Regions from separate parts of the Homo sapiens genome. Here all the other regions are linked to region 3. Evidence: promoter capture Hi-C in 16 types of primary human blood cells and fetal thymus (Javierre and others, 2016). All regions are on one chromosome and are shown on one strand. The core of a region is centred on a gene start or on the middle of the fragment in contact, and the rest is flanking DNA. Distances in the headings are between cores, read along the strand shown.

Evidence for each region. Contacts are between HindIII fragments. The CHiCAGO score rates a contact against its expected background, and 5 or more counts as called.
Region 1: a contact is called between a fragment that was not itself captured here and the fragment with the promoter of LRRN3 in region 3, in 1 of 17 cell types (M2 macrophages). The highest score is 5.9, in M2 macrophages.
Region 2: a fragment that was not itself captured here is called in contact with the fragment with the promoter of LRRN3 in region 3 in 2 of 17 cell types (activated CD4 T cells and non-activated CD4 T cells); the score reaches 6.4 in activated CD4 T cells.
Region 4: a fragment that was not itself captured here is called in contact with the fragment with the promoter of LRRN3 in region 3 in 1 of 17 cell types (activated CD4 T cells); the score reaches 7.2 in activated CD4 T cells.
Region 5: a contact is called between a fragment that was not itself captured here and the fragment with the promoter of LRRN3 in region 3, in 1 of 17 cell types (activated CD4 T cells). The highest score is 5.0, in activated CD4 T cells.
Region 6: a fragment that was not itself captured here is called in contact with the fragment with the promoter of LRRN3 in region 3 in 2 of 17 cell types (total B cells and naive B cells); the score reaches 5.5 in total B cells.

The regions. Positions count from the first base shown.
Region 1 is chr7:111,554,002-111,556,701 of GRCh38, reverse strand. The region is part of intron 1 of IMMP2L (inner mitochondrial membrane peptidase subunit 2); the gene reads left to right. Among named protein-coding and RNA genes, the nearest start is that of IMMP2L, 7.1 kb to the left of the region's middle. The HindIII fragment of the contact is 3,780 bases long and covers 1-2,700 here.
Region 2 is chr7:110,637,365-110,640,064 of GRCh38, reverse strand. No RefSeq gene overlaps it. Among named protein-coding and RNA genes, the nearest start is that of LRRN3, 450 kb to the left of the region's middle. The HindIII fragment of the contact is 1,162 bases long and covers 846-2,007 here.
Region 3 is chr7:111,089,701-111,092,400 of GRCh38, reverse strand. It overlaps LRRN3 (leucine rich repeat neuronal 3), which reads right to left and starts at 1,274. Exons shown (of 3, transcript NM_001099658.2): 1 at 897-1,274. All of the region lies in intron 3 of IMMP2L (inner mitochondrial membrane peptidase subunit 2), which reads left to right. The HindIII fragment of the contact is 3,940 bases long and covers 1-1,696 here.
Region 4 is chr7:110,610,225-110,612,924 of GRCh38, reverse strand. No RefSeq gene overlaps it. Among named protein-coding and RNA genes, the nearest start is that of LRRN3, 480 kb to the left of the region's middle. The HindIII fragment of the contact is 3,027 bases long and covers 1-2,700 here.
Region 5 is chr7:110,759,279-110,761,978 of GRCh38, reverse strand. The region is part of intron 5 of IMMP2L (inner mitochondrial membrane peptidase subunit 2); the gene reads left to right. Among named protein-coding and RNA genes, the nearest start is that of LRRN3, 330 kb to the left of the region's middle. The HindIII fragment of the contact is 1,318 bases long and covers 652-1,969 here.
Region 6 is chr7:111,519,920-111,522,619 of GRCh38, reverse strand. It overlaps IMMP2L (inner mitochondrial membrane peptidase subunit 2), which reads left to right. Exons shown (of 6, transcript NM_032549.4): 2 at 1,171-1,307. The coding sequence starts at 1,173. Among named protein-coding and RNA genes, the nearest start is that of IMMP2L, 41 kb to the left of the region's middle. The HindIII fragment of the contact is 1,471 bases long and covers 577-2,047 here.

The sequences.
Region 1 (2,700 bases), core at 191-2,690, 460 kb before region 3:
AAAGGAGAAACCATAAAAGAGAAAGATGTAAAGATGCTGAAGGAGAGTGGCCATTAAGTATGATGATGATTGTAAAGTTACAATCATCAATGACTGTTAGAAGTCACTGGTTTCATTGTAGTGGTGGAGGTAAAGCTATCGTGCTGTGGGTAAAGGACTGAATAGGAGATGAGGCTGAAGGGGGCTGGACATGAGAATAGAGAGTAGATATGCTTGGGTCCCTCTTAGGAGATAATTGTTCTTCAGTCAGGGTATTTACTTAATACATTTTATTGTGTATATTTAAGGAAAATAACATGTTATGGAATACATGTAAATAGTAAAATGGTTACTGTAGTGAGACATAGTAACATCCATCATCTTACATAGTTATCCATTTTTGTGTGTATGACAAGAGTAGCTAAAATCTACTCATTTAGCAAAAGTCAGGAATACAATACAGTATTATATAGTACTGATGCTGTACATGAGTTCCCAAACTCTTTCATTATACATGGCTGCTACTTTGTGTCCTTTGACCTACATCTCAATTTCCTTCCCCCTCCCCTGGGATCACTGTTTTATTCTCCATCTCTGTATGCACACATATTAGAATCCCCTAGAGAGCTTTTAAAAATTCCGACTGATATCTTTACAAGGTTGCGGTTTCATTTTCTTTGGGTATGTATATATATATATATATACATGCACACAGAAGAGGGATGGCTAATTGGTACAAAATAGAAGTAATGGTAGTTCTATTTTTAATTTCTTTAGGAACCTCCCTACTTTTTCCATAATGGTTGTACCAATAGTATACAAGGGTTCTCTTTTCTCCCACCCTCGCCAACACTTATCTCTTGTTTTATTTGGTAGTAGCCATCTTGATGGGTGTGAATATATGGAAACAACCTAACTGTCCAACAAAAGACAACAGAAAATCAAACTGCAGTACATATATAGAATGGAATATTATTCAGCCTTAAAAAAGAAATAGATTCTGCTTTTTGCCATAAGATAGGTAAACCTAGGGGACATTATGCTAAGTGAAGTAAGCCAAATGCAGAAAGAAAAATATTGTATTATCTCACATGTGGAATCTTAAAAAAAAGTCAAATACATAGTGAAATCATATCACTGCTTCAGATTTTATTTTTTGAGAGAGAAACAACATGTCTGTATGCTGTGAGTTAGAAACACCATAGAAAGGGAGATGTTGAAAATACAGTTGCCTGATTCCTTGCTTGTCATATTTTTTTTTTTGTGAATGAAGATTAGGTTGTCGCTTTGTTTGCCTACTCCTTCCCGGCTTGCAAAATTCATATCTGACCCCAACTGTCAGATATGAATTTTAAATGTCCTTTCTACTCTATTCTTTCCTGCCCCACAGTTCACTGCTGTCTTGCTCTCACTACGTCTGGCCCTTTTGCATACATTATTCTCTAACCTAATCCAGTTGTGCGTAAAAACTCCATTTTCCTTTATTAAAAGTTGAAAAATTTCACAGGAGTGTCTGCTAGGAGAATGGAGGAAATAATGATAACAAACATAAAAATCATTCAGCATAGCCAACATGTATTAATATCTGCTATGGTAAAGGCCCTGGATACAAAGATATATATGGCAGGAAGGATGAGTAACATAGGGATCTGATCTTAATGCATTTATGCCTAGTGCTCCATTATTGGAGCGCTAAGCTAGTGGGAGTTATTTATATCCTACTTCTCAAGGTCATCGCCAAGGCCTGATTTTTCACAAAAAAAATTTGCAACCTCCAGCATAAATGGGTTAAGGACCCCTCAGGGCAGTGAGAAAAATGGATATATAAATAAAGCAGCACCAGTACTTTGGGAGGCTGAGGTGGGTGGATCACCAGAGGTCAGGAGTTCGAGACTAGCCTGGCCAATATGGCAAAACCCCGTCTCTACTAAAAATACAAAAATTAGTCAGGCATGCTGGCATGTACCTGTAATCCCAGAGGCTGAGGCAGGAGAATCACTTGAACCCAGGAGGTGGAGGTTGCAGTGAGCCGAGAATGTGGTACTGCACTCCAGCCTGGGTGACAGAGCAAGACTCCATCTCAAATAATAATAATAATAATAATAAAATAAAAATAAAGCAATGCTTTGAGGGACAATATGTGCTATGATAGAGTTCAAGGTAAGATAGATGCAAAAAATGGACTTCATTATTTTTGTGATCCTGAAGGTCTCACAAAAGGTGATACCTGAGCTATAGCTTGAGATATGGCATGGTGAGGTTCGGGGAGTAAGATTAGGGGAATAAAATATTCCTTAATGGCCCCACGATAGCAGCAGAAGGGGCTTGGGTTTCTCATCTTCCCTTTCTTCTTGTTCTGCGTGATTTTATTGCAAGATATTTTTGTGTTTGAGGGAGTTCTTAGGGGGTTAATATGTTTCAGTTTACATATAGACGTATCAGCATTTTCTCCCTTGTGATATAAACTTTCTGTGAATTTACCAACACTGGTTTATTATATATTAGACAGCTAACACAAACCAGTGCAATTATATCAAGTATCTGGGGGATGAGGTCCAGGCAGTGATATTTTCAAAGCATCTTAGGTGTCCTCATGGCAGTCAGGGTGGAGAACCACTGGGCTAAAACATGGCTTAGAAGAAAAGGCTGGGATTTGGAGCTAAAAAATTGTAGATTAGATTCTTGAATTCCTTTTAATAGTTACGTATCCTTAGTTAAGTT
Region 2 (2,700 bases), core at 177-2,676, 450 kb after region 3:
ACAGGGAGGGTGGTGATTTGGGGATTGATTGACACAAGCAGAAGCCTGGAGAAGGAGTAACTAGGGCTGTGGTCTCTGCCCTGTAATATCAAGATTCGAACCTGAGACCTCTATTCTAGGAGAAATCCAATACCCTTTTTTAAATTCCTCCTAAAATTTTAGATGCTAAGATGTGCTTAGGCTAGTGGTAAACTGGGGAAGAAATGCAGAATCTAACAGTATTCAAATCCAGTTAAAAAATATAAACACCCTTATGATGCCAAATTGGTGAATGAGCTACCACTTTGTCAACCTGTCTGAAGGAATCACTCATAACAGCTGGTAATCATTTGTTTTTTATGTCATTATGGCCAGTAGAAGATGTTGATCTTCTTGTTCCCTCATGCTATTCTTTTTTTCATTGGCACAGCTGTCTTGCTTTTCTCAGAAATGTAGTTCTTCCTCTTTTTCAACCTCCTTCCTCACTCCTTTATTCTCTTTAACCCCAGAGCATGGCACTATCCTGTCCTGCACACCTCCCTGTCCTCCATGTGTCTCTCTCTTTGCCCCTGTGTGTTTACATATCCCTCCCTGCCCTTGTAATAATGAACATATACATGCATTTTTAAAGTTTATTAAGTAATAATAACAAACAATTCTGATGGTAATTTTTTAACATGAAACTGAAAGGAAAGATTTGTTTTCCTCAAAAAATCTTGTCCCTCTCTTGCCCCCTTACCTTCATTAAATATAACCTTTAAACTTGGGTCCAGCTCATGAGTATGTATTTTTTCTATTGGTCACTTATTCTTAATCAATTTATAGAAATAACTGTGTGCTATTATTTAAAAGTTCATATTAAAGCTTTTCTTTTAAAGAGAAGAAATTCTCCTGTTCTAAAGAGTTAATTATAATTTGTAGTGAATGATCATTACATTTTTACCAAAATGAAGAACGTAATTGAAATGTGTCTCTTTGGGAAAGTGCATATAGTATATGACTTCTTTCTGACCATGAATTTCCCTGAAACAAAAGTCTAGCATAGTCAAATTTACTTTTCTATACCTATTTAGCAATCAAGAGAATTTTGTTCTAAGGATAAGCAAATATTAACTGTCCACTATGGGAAATAATAGAAAGGGGAGGATTGGGGATTTGGGAGAAGAAAATGGGGATTGAGCACATGGAAAACTAGGAGTAGAGGTTTATTGCAGTGGTTTTCAGAGAGGAAAAGGAAGGCAGAAGGTGAGTAATTTGGGTCTCAGAATGGCCTTCCTGTATAGTGAGAGGAGCAGAAGTCAGGAAGGAGTCCTCAAAAACAGGCTGGGGAGCCAAGTCCAAGTATCCTGCCACATTCTAGAATCTCCTGGTGAATATCCTGTGTTTAGAGATTTGAAAACACTCATTTGCTGCTAGAGCAGATATGCTGAATAAGGCAACAGTAGCATGTTATTTGAAGTCTTCGTCATCCTGCAGCCATGCGGTAGAGTTGGACTTGGGAGTCCAAGCTCATAACTCTGATTCATAAAATCCAAAAGGCATTGACCTCTTGGAGGGAAGAAAAGATGGGAGAGGGTAAGGTGAGGGAAAATGCCTCTCACAATGCAATGCTTTCCTCAAACAGAGCACAATTGATTTTAAGCATGTCTTTGACAATGAATAAAAAGGGAGATCCTGAGGAATGGATGGTCTGAAAATTTCATCTCAGAACCCATTCTTACTATTTAAGTTATATAAAAATTAAAGATAACATCTTTATTTGCTTTGTTTGTGGGTTTTTATTGTCTCAGTTTTTGCTGATATTTAAAATATTTTAAGATTCCCTTTTATGCCCTTAGTTCTTCTAACATTATTTATCTTATAAAGGTTTTTAGTCCTTCTACTTAAAATTCTCTTGCTATGAGGGATTGCAGAAAGGTCGTCTTTGCAGTTATTGCAATTGAGGGGAAGAATACTGGACATTTGATTTAAGGAATTTAGAAGGTCTTTATCAATATATATCATCCCTGAGAAGTAATTATCTAAGCTTTGTTTAAATGCCCAAGTGATGGAAAATGTGTTGTCATATAGACAGCCCATTAAATTTAAGATAGGATTATTTGTTTGACAACTTTCCTTACATTGATCTAAAATTTTTCTCTCTGCAATTTCTTCTGCCTTCTGAAATAAAGAAATGTGATCTATTTTTTTTTCTAAGAGGTGTTGACAATTTTTTTTTTACGTGTAGTTCAAGTTCTTTCCTTTAGTAGCAAGTTTCCTGTATATTCCTATACATTGTGGGTTTTTTAAATTATCACATATGATACTTTTATGACTGTAATTCCTTATATCTGACTTAGGTTGGTGGCTTCATTTAATCTCATTTGGTCTCTCAAATCCTTCCCCCTTTTCCTTCCCTGCCTACTGCTCTTACCATCCACTGTCCCAGACCTTTCTACTCCTACAGCTCCCACCTTTTCTTGTCCCCAATTGCACCTTCTCTGCAAACAAACAAGAGCTTGGGCCTGACAGGTAGCTCCTCTGAGGCTGGTGGATATGTCATGGGGACAAGTGGGCATCGGGCCAAGTGTTAGCCACCTTCCATGTGAGGGCGAGACATCAAAACTGCTGTGTCTTAGGGCCGCCAGCCCCAGTGAGAGCAGAGGAGCTTCCCAGAGGCAGTGGCTCTAAAGGCTCCTTTGATGGAGCTATGCTTGGCAGGAAGGGGCTGGCGTCCCATGG
Region 3 (2,700 bases), core at 25-2,524:
GAGCCGAATTAAGCCATCCAGCTCAACAACAGCAAAGGGAATATAGCAGTTGGTTAGAACAAACAATTTTCTTAAATAGGAAATGTACTTTAAAGCCATCCTGCTGTGATCCTGTTAATTACCAAAGATTAGAACTCTTCTGGTTCATGGGATCCTTTCACCTAGTGTGTGGCAGTTCCAGCTGCATTAGCAATCAGACATTTGCACTGTCCCTTCAGACCAGCGAGGGGATGTTATTAAAGGGAAGTCATTTACCCCAGTCCGTAAGATGTAGCCTGGCAGAAATTCAATAACTGTTTGTGATATGCTCATTCTGCTACTCTGCTTAGTGGTTTAGCTCTTAACATACAACAGCATTTGCCTTAATTTGCATCCACTGGATGAGACAAAATAAAAATGCCCCATTTGGTGGGTTGATTTCAAAACAGAGAATAATGTGTGATCTGCTTTTCACTACAAATAATGTGAAGAAAAAGGAAAATTGCACCCCATCACCCGTGACTCTCCTCTCCTCTCTGTCTCCTCTCTGTCTTCTCTCTTCCCCATCTCCTTCTCTCTCCCTCTCCTCCTCTCTTCTCCCCCACTGTTCCCTTCTCTTCTGTCTCCCTCCTTTTTCTCCTCCCCCCAACACTGCTTTTTCTCTCCCACTCACATCCTCTAATGGGCATTCAAGCTAGTAAAATGCATGTTGGAGAATCTCACAAACACAGCTAGGCACACACAGAGCCAGCTGGGTTTTGCATGTGAATTTCTTCTCAAAAGTGCAATAAAAGAAAAATGCTCTTAGAATTCAGACAAGAAGAAGACATCAAAGGAGGATTTAGGTGTAAAAACATGATCATCGAAGAGACAAGAAATAGAACGTATTTTAAAATATATGTGTATTTTAAACTTACCTTGAAAAGCAGTTTCAGTGCTAGCCCACCTCCGATGTCCTTGCGTGCTGGATTCCTCAGTTCCTTGGTTGAGATAATCACATGGTTGTGTTCTTGCCCGGTATAAATAGGTGCATTTGTGTGTCTGTGTAACAAAGTGTACAAAATATATACTATAGATATGCACACATGCACGCAATCTTATCTCTCTATTTTAAAATATAAAGGAAGGCAGGAGGCTGCAGCCGGGATTCCTTCTTTTTCCTGGAACTCTTTTTCTCAGTCGGCAGGCTGAGGCTCTCAATCCAGTGAAGAGAGATCCTGTGAGCTGGCTTTATTTTTCCTTGTTTCCATGGTGGTTAGTGGTGCATCGTTCACCCGATCAGTTGTCACACTGACATGGTGCTGCCTGCTCAGCGGTCATTAATAACTGAACACCCTCCACTCCCCAGAGAGGAGCCAATCGCTTCAGACAGCCAAGATGTAGCACTCGCAGCTGCTCCAGTCTGGTTGGCTGAAACAAACTGTCTGTTCTATGACACTGCTGCTTAGGATACAAATAAATGAAACAGGCTTGCATGTTTTCCTAGGTATCATTTTCCTTCTTTTTTTTCCTTTCTGAGGGAATGTTGGGAATTTTTGACAAGTTTTCTCAATTTTAGGTTATCAGTCATTCAGAGAAATATGTTTTCAGTCTGCAAATAGAGAGGACACACTACTGATAAGGATTTCCTAAATATTAAAAACACCTGGTAGAGACTCAAACCTCCAACTCCGTCTCTGAAGTTCAGCAATGACTGCATTATTTAAGAAGAGAAGCTTGCAACTGTTTTGAGTGGCATTTGGTTCTCTATAGATCCTACTTAATTTAGCATATGTGCTTGGTGTTCAATAACACTTTTTTTTTTTTTTTTTTAGCAATGACATTTCTTGTCTGGATTGACCAGATTTTTAAAATAAAGCATATATTTGCCTCTCTGTAATTCACAACATTGGCATTTGAGGGGGTACTTTTTAAAAATATGTATTTCTAATTATACTCACTGACTTCTCTTTATATGATGTAATAAATCTAGGAGCTACATATGAATGGGTACATGTGTAGGTGTGTTTGTGTATCTGTGAGTGTGTGTGTGTATTTAGGATGTATTTTTTACCACTCTGGGGAAATATTTCGATTGTAATAAGTTAAATTATTTAAAAGACTATCTTTATTCTTAGGCCTATTAACTCTGAAAGGATATTTCCCAGGAAAATATACTATATAAGCCATACATGTAAAACATTTTTATTAATTACCAGAAATTTGGAAAACACAGAAACACATAGCAGTGCATATTTCTGAAAGAACATACATGAAAAATCAAAAAGCAGTTTTAAAAATGCATGTTTTACAACCTTAATTAGTATACTAGAGAAACATCTTGTTGAGGAGAATGGAACATGAGGATTAATATATCAACAGGTCAAAAGCAGGCTAGTCATGACTCCAACCCCAGTTTTGAGAGACTACCCTCTAGTGGAGTAAAGAGAAATGGCACTTATTAGATTTACTTAGGAAAAAAAAAACAAAACCTTCACATCTAATTGCTCCTTAAGTGCTTATTGACATGACATAGAACAATAGTTTGCAGTTATTATAATAATAATAATACCAGGAAAAATTTTAAACAGTAGGCTTGTCTTTAAATACTGAATATTTTCACTCTGTAGTTTTCTAGAAACAGTTCCCAAATGTTTTTTTCTATAAGAATTTATTCAAATGAATCAAAATAAGTTCAAGATAAAAGTAGCATCTCATTTAACCTAATACTTATTTCAGAAT
Region 4 (2,700 bases), core at 53-2,552, 480 kb after region 3:
AGAACATGCCAAACTTTCATCTGTCAGTCAGGCAGATCCAGGAGGTATTATGCCCTCAGCTGAGGAAGCCCTATTATTATATATGAAAAGGATTCATTGAGAGCATCACTGTCAGAGAAGTCAAAGGAGAGTATATAAATGGGAGAATGTAATGTGTGATCTGATCCAAAGCAATTAATATAATTTTCTGTTTAAGTTAAAATTGCTGATATGACAGTGGGGCAGGGTGTGATTCATGAGGAGTTGATTTAGACCCTAAGAGAAAAAAGGAAATTAATCTAGAAAAGAATAAGATTTAAAAACATTTTATGGTACATGTCGTTATCATTGTTAATTATTATTAATATAACGTTAATTATAATGTTGGTAATATAGTCATTATTAATATGCTGAGGAGACTAAGATCCATTATATATCAACTTTTGATTTGAAAGGAGGTTATTGGCTGAGACCTTGGTTATCAGTCATTTATTATTTCCCATTTGGAATAGAAGAATAGGTCATTTTTGTTTAACCTATATAGTCAGAAAAACTTTGTTTCAGTGCTTCTATGGTGAACATGAAGTAATGTGTTCTCAGTGTTTTATGACAGTGTTGTTTCTCTGTCTCTAGGAGGAGAAAGACTTTCTCTTTTTAAAACCGGAAATATATCCTGCCTGAAATAATTTGGAGAACTCCTCGTTGTGAAGTCTACAGGGACATCAAAAAAACACAGCTATCTGTTCCCCAGCTATATCTTCTTCTTTATCCCTTGGAACATTTGTAGCTGCACTTCCTACAAGAAGGAACCATTTGTAATCATGAGCAAAGGTTGATTCAAGATTTTATCGAAGGTATTTAAATATTCTTCATTTGAAGAGTAGTTATGTGCTTCTACGGGCAGAGGCCAATCTAATTTTTCTTAATGTCCCCAGAGCCTACCATGTTGCCTGACAAGGTAGAGATGCTTGCTCAACATTTACTGAAAATGGAGGCTAATATCACAGAAATAACTAATCCCTCTCAAATCTGGGGATTTAGTTTTCTTTCACTCTGTCCCACCCCCCACTAAATATCCACAGTTTCCATTCCTCCATCCTTTTGAGTTAGGTATATTTTAATTTTGATTATATCAATTTAATATTTCTATTATGATGATTACATAAACACCTTTTATAACCACACCCTCTTCCTTCTGCCCCTCCTACCTGTTCTTCCTCACCCTCAGCAACCACCAGCCTGTTCTCCATTTCTAAAATTTTGTCATTTCAAAACCATTATATAAATATGGAGTCATATAATATGTAACCTTTGGGGTAAGTTTGTTTCACTCAGCATAATTACTTAGAGATCCATCCAAGTTGTTGCTGCATGTATCAATAGTTGCTTCCTTTTGATTGCTTAGTAAGATATCATGGTATGTATGCACCACAGTTTGCTTAACCATTTCCTTACTGAGGAACATCTGGGATGCTTTCTGTTTTGGGCTTTCATGAATGAAGCTGCTTTGAAGACCCAGGTACAGGTTTTTGTATGAACATAATTGTCATTTCTCTGGGAGAAATGCCCAAGAGTGCAATTACTAAGTCACGTAGTAATTGCATATGTAGCGCCACAAGAAACTACTGTTTTCCATGGTGGTTGTAACATTGTACATCCCCACCAGCAATGTGTAAGGGTTCTAATTTCTCCACATCCTCATAGACACTTGTTTATGAAACTTGTTTAGAAAAGCACTATCATGCTTTCTTAAAATTTATTTAAGCATCCCAGTTGATGGGAAGTTGCATCTCCTTATGGCTTTGATTTGCCTTTACCTAATAACTATTGATGTTGAACACCATTTTTCACATTCCTCTTGGCCGTTCCTATGTCATCTTTGAAAAAATCTCTATTCAGATCCTTTGCCCATTTTTGAACTGGGTTATTTATCTTTTTATTACTGAGTTGTAAGAGTTCTTTATGTATTCTAGATACAAGTCCCTTAACAGATGTATGGTATTCAAATATTTTCAGTGGACTGAATTTTCACTTTCTTGATTGTGCCCCTTGAAATACTAAAGTTTTATTTTGAGGCAGTTCAATTTATTTATTTTTTCCTTTGGTTGCTTATGTTTTTGGTGTCATATTTAAGAAAATGTTGTCTTATTCAAGTTAAGAAAATTTACACCTGTGTTAACTTTTCTAAAGGTTTCATAGCTTTGGCACTTACATCTAGATCTTTAATCCAGTTTGAATTAATTTTTGCATGTGTTATAAGGTAAGAGTCCAAATTCATTCTTTTGAATGTAGAGTTTCATTTAGCCCAGCACCATTTTCCCAAAGACTATTCTTTCTCCAGGAGATGATCTTGATACCCTTGTTGAAAACTGATTGACAATAGATACATTGATTCTCAATTATATATACACAAATATATATGTGTGCATGTGTGTGTGTTGATTACTGTAGCTTTGTAATAGGTTTTGAAATCAGAAAGTGTGAGTCCCACAACTTTGTTCTTAAAGATTGTTATGGGTATTTGGGCTTCCTTGTACTTTCTTATAAGTTTTAGGCTTAATTTCTGTGTTCATTATATAAACCTTCACTTAATCTTTTCAACATAGTTCCCTTACCCTCAACTGTGCCAGAGATGTTGTTTACTCTCCAGAGGATAAGTCCCCAGTCCTCTCTTGGGTAGGAGAAGAGTAGTTGCTGGCTGCATGGATCTGAAATAGTCTC
Region 5 (2,700 bases), core at 61-2,560, 330 kb after region 3:
GGACAGGGGCAGAGGTACGGACCCCGTGTTGACCAGGGAGCTATGCTGGCAGTGTTTAGCTTTGGTACAAACAGAACATTTAAGGTATGTTATGTAGACCTGACAATTGTCATGATGACACTAGAGGTCAGAAGTTAGAGAAATGAATAAGCTGTGATTTATACTCAGCATGGCATAGATGTTAAGGGCTCAAGCTGCCAATTAACAGCTAAGTGTTTGTTTAAACTCTTTAAGCCTCAGGTTCCTCATCTGTGAAATTGGATTTGTAATCATATTTGCTTCACAAGATAGTTGTAAGGATTACATTAGACAATACATGTCAATGAGGTTAGCCTTTACACATAGTAAGTTCCCAGCCTACAGTAAGCATCTGATAAGTATAAATGGTTATTTTCATAAAAATTTAAAATCTCCTGAGAGGTACTTGATTGATGCATATCTACTTCAATTTTATGACACTGTGAATCCTTCCTGTAGAATATGTTTACTTTTGGAGATCATTAGGAAGGACTTCAGCATAGTGTTCTTGATTTCTTATAACCAGCCTAAATAGAGATGGCATTAATTCCACCCTAGTACTATATCGAATCTAGGTTGATGAGTTCAAGATTCTTCTGTCATGGAAAGGACATCATTGATCATTGGAAAGCTTTGTTTGCTAAACAGTCAGCAGGGCTTGATGTGAGGTAGATAAAGAGGAATGGCTATATTTTCGTTTTTTACCATCCCCATCGTCAAGAAGTCATTATTTCCCATTTGTTTTTCTAGTGGAGTGCTCATATTCTACAGACTGAGAAACCACTTAGTCCCCTTCTGGAATCCCACTATGTTAGAGATGTTTGCTGCCACCAAAAGTTTAAAGTTTGACTGGCTGAAAGGTGGACCAGCTTTGAATCTCAGCCATCCATAGGAAGAACTGCTCTGATACACCAACAGCTCTCATTCTCCCTTACTCATCAGCAAGCCCTGTATTTGGTAGCAGATGCTTTTCAAATTCACCTGATATCGCTGCATTGCAATGTTTGCTTTCTCTATTCTCCAACCCACTTATGTCACTTATACATCTGGTTTGACTTCTCTGGCTCCTGTGGCTTGTTGGGCCATAATTTCCTCTAAGGTCTGCATGACCTTTGTGAGGTGCCTACTGTGATGATCCTATCTGGCGTTCTACACTTGTAGTAAGAAATAGGTGTTTAGTCAGAGCTGTTAACAATAGTCAGCAAACCTTTTGAGATATTCCAGGTATTGAAGTGCTATGAGAGATTTTGAAATAAATATATTGTAGAACAAAAAGAAAGCACAGACCAAAAAAGATTCAATTCTGTGATATGTTGGAAGGAAAACGTAACCAACACGTTGCTCCCTTTCAATATGGATTGGTATCTTCTAGGAACTTCATTCCTTCCCAGCAGTTGCCCTCCTGGGAGTTGGGGACAACAAAAACTCTTTTATATAAGCTGAAAGCAGTGAGTAATAGACCACTTCTCAGTCTAGTTGTTGGTATGGGCATTTCATTTCTGACCTTTAATGTAATTTACCTAAACAAACAACTGATAATGGAAAACATCAGCTTCAGAGCCCTTCACAGTTTTAAAACATTTTCATCTATTGCTGAATTATTGTAGTTTCCTGAACACTATACAGATTATCTCTATTAGAAAAAGAAGTTTCCAATTTAAACTTAATGTGAAGGGTAGTCCAATATTGGATGTAAACAACTTCTCTAAGGCAGATGCAGATAAACACTAATAGAAAGGGAATGATACTATCTTAGGCCTGGACGTGGAGAATTGAGACTGAATTCTCAAGGTGGCACAAAAGCAAGTGAATTCTCAACCCAAGGCTGATAAGTAGATAATAATTAGAAAAATAAAACGGTTTTCTTTTGTGATGACAAAGCACAGATGTCTCCACTTGATTTCATATTAAATGGAAGGCTTAACTGGCATTGTGGGGAGAAAAGGAAGCTTTTTTTCTCCTCAGAAAGTGCTGGAGCAGATTGTCTGTTAAAAAGCTTAATAAAGAATTCAAAGACAGAGACCTCACAGCAGGGGTAAAAGGAGTAACTGGGTTGGGAAAGAATGAATCTAATAATAATAAGCAACTTTGCTTCTGCCAGGAAGTTCAATTCTGAAAATTCACACAACATAAACTCAATTCATTTGTATCCTCTCTTATTTGAAATTATTGAAGCTATAACTTCAGTAGTTCATTGATGTCAGGGTTCCCCTAGAAATAAAAGTTGAACAAGGGCATGTATATACTTTCTTAAGGAAACAAGTAAATCCCTAAGTCTGTCTGTACATACATGTTACCAAGAAAGGAAATAAAGCAGCTCCAAAATCTGTTTTTAATATTAAAGCCTAGTCAAGAATGTGTTCCCTGACTCTTTTTACCATAGCCATTTTTGAAAATAGGGCCTCTTTATAAAATACTTAGAATTAATAAGAATATGCATCATGAACCTCCTTTTCTCATGAACACTTATACAAACCTTCTGCCTTAGTATCCATTTAGTCCATATCTTTCCTCGCATATCATGCTATTTTATTTGACCAGCCTCCTTTCAGAAATTTATATTTAAATTCATTCATTCGGCAAATGTTTATCTCACATCTACTTTGTGCAAGTCACTGAGGACTCAGAGGAAGGTAAGATAAGGTGCTCATGGTCTGGAAGAGATAGAAATGTAAACAGATC
Region 6 (2,700 bases), core at 63-2,562, 430 kb before region 3:
CCATTCTAACTGGGGTGGAATGATATCCATGTGGTTTTGATTTGCATTTCCCTCATGACTGCGCATTCTTTTCATATACCTGTTGGCTATTTGTATGTCTTCTTTTGAGAAATTATTGTTAAGCTCTTGGGCATTTTTTAATTGGGTTGTCTTTTTGCTATTGAATTGTTGGAGTTCCTTATGCGTTTTTGGATATTAGCCTCTTGTCAGAAGTATAGTTTCCTTATATTTTCTTCCATTCTGTAGGTTGTCTCTTCATTACGTTGATTGTTTGCTGCACAGAAACTTTTTAGCTTGATGTAATCTCCATTGTCTGTTTTTGCTATGATTGACTGTGCTTTTGAAGTCTTATCCAAAAAAGTCTTGCCAAGACTCCAGCTTGGGTGACAGAGTGAGACCCTGTCTAAAAACAACAACGACAACAACAACACCAACACTGCCACCACAAACAGCGCAAGTGATTTATCTGTGATTTAACAGTCCAAATGTAAGCAATGCAGGACAGTATGGTGCCTCCATGGTGTTGCGGACCTAGGATCGTTCCATTTTGTTGCTTTGTCATCTTTACTTGAAGCTTTTATCTCATAGTTTGAGATGGCCACCCCTGCTCCTACCACCAAATTGTTAGTATTACAGTTATAAAATGGGGAAGAAAAGGGAGGGCATCCTCCTTTTCAGGGTGCAACCAAGAATTATATCCTTTCTACTCATGCTGTTGATCAAATCCAGTGACATGGTCACAATTAGCTGCAAGGGAGGCTGGAAAACAGTCTTTAGTTGGGCAGCCACATGTTCCACTGAAACTTTTATTACTGTAGAAGAGAACAGATATCAGGGGTATAAGGAGTAACTTCATCATAATAGCAACAGAAAAGAATTTACTTCTGGAATGCTTGTTTTTTTCTAACTTACTGTTTTGTGGGGAGAAATTTCCCACTGAAGTTAGCAAGTGGACTTGAGTTGTGGAAAAGCATTAACCTGAGTTCACGTATTTCACTTTAGGACTTTAAGTAAGTCAGATTTATTCTAATGGTTACAGGAATGAGTGTGTAATATATTAAGAGACAAGATTGCCCTTCGGTAACTCTTACTTTTCATGTACTGTTTTTATGTCTTTGTTTTTCACCTTTCTTGAGACTAATTTCATAGTTGTTTTCTTTGTATTTTTAGGTATGGCACAGTCACAAGGGTGGGTGAAAAGATACATCAAGGCCTTTTGTAAAGGCTTCTTTGTGGCGGTGCCTGTGGCAGTGACTTTCTTGGATCGGGTCGCCTGTGTGGCAAGAGTAGAAGGAGCATCGATGCAGGTGAAAATGATATAACTTCGTTCTTTAAAGCACATACTTCATTGTTTTTCAAGCACTAGAAATGAGAGTGCTAATTATTATTCCTATTCTGGGAACTGAAAGGTTATAAAAAGGCATTGAAATGAAATTTTACTTTACTGAATTTGTTCTTAAGGTCTTCTAATACAGTCGTATTATAATCAGAGGAGAGGTTAATAAAAGTAACTATCAGTTCTCTGGGTCTGTAGTTTAAATTTTTCTGAGAATTTTAAATGGAGATTCTTAAGAAATTATACTAAATGACACTGTTTTCTGTGAATATGGCTCTATTAGAATATCCTTTTAATGCCAAATTATTAGTGTAGTTGCAAGATGGGTTTGAGTCACAATCAGTTGCTCTCTTGTTATATAGGTATATGATTTCAGTTTGTAGAAATGTCTAGACCATTGATCCCAGATATTGTATTGTGTTCTTTAAGCATGTTGCTAATTGAAAAGATTAAGTGCAGTTTACAGTGGAAGAACTTTGGAGTGGAGATTTCCAAAAGTTTTATGCAAATAGTCTTCTGGAATAACTTAGAGAAAATTATGTTGTCCTAAAGTTGATGTCTAGAACCTAGCTTTTTTAGTAAGTTTAAGCAGTTAGGCAGAATTTGCATTTTGTTATAGGATTTGGTTTCCTGTATTATCAATATGTATTAAGTTCATGCGTTGTGGTAAATAGTTGTATAAAACAAATAACTAAAATGAATATATAAGCTTCTAAAAAATCAAAATTATACAGAGAATAACCAGCTTAATTTTTTTTCTTTTTGTTTCAGTTAGAACTAGTTAAGGGCATAGTTATCAGCTTTAAGGAGTTAGAATTAGTTTGCTTTATTTATTATAATTATGGTATTGAACTTCTCCCTGAGTTCTGGTAGTCAGATACAGAAGGTCAGGAAATCCTTTAGCTTCTTTGGGAAAAGCTACATTTTTAAAACAGGACTGCCTTTATATTCTACTTCCATCATTTGAGCATGGTTAGGGCCTTTTCTTGGGCAGAAGATTCTGCTCTCAACCGTGTCTTTCAGGTTCTCTCCATAGTGGATCACCAGCCCAAAGCAAACTGGTCACTTACTTTGAATGCCAAAATATCTTAATGTAGGGGTACAGTAAACATAGAAAGAAAGATTTATAGGCATATGGCTTTAAATACACTTTAATATGTTTAAGATAGAATGTATTTTACATTCGTTGCCTCTTTAATCTTGAATTCCTAGCAGCCTTGTCTTAGACTCAATCCTTAGGGAAACGTAGACTTTCTTTGCTGAGCTTTGGAGTCAGATTCTTCATTTCAGATTAAAACTGCCTTCTTCACAGCCACCCACATTCCTTTTTGGTCCCAAGGATCCCTTTGAATCCATTCACAAGC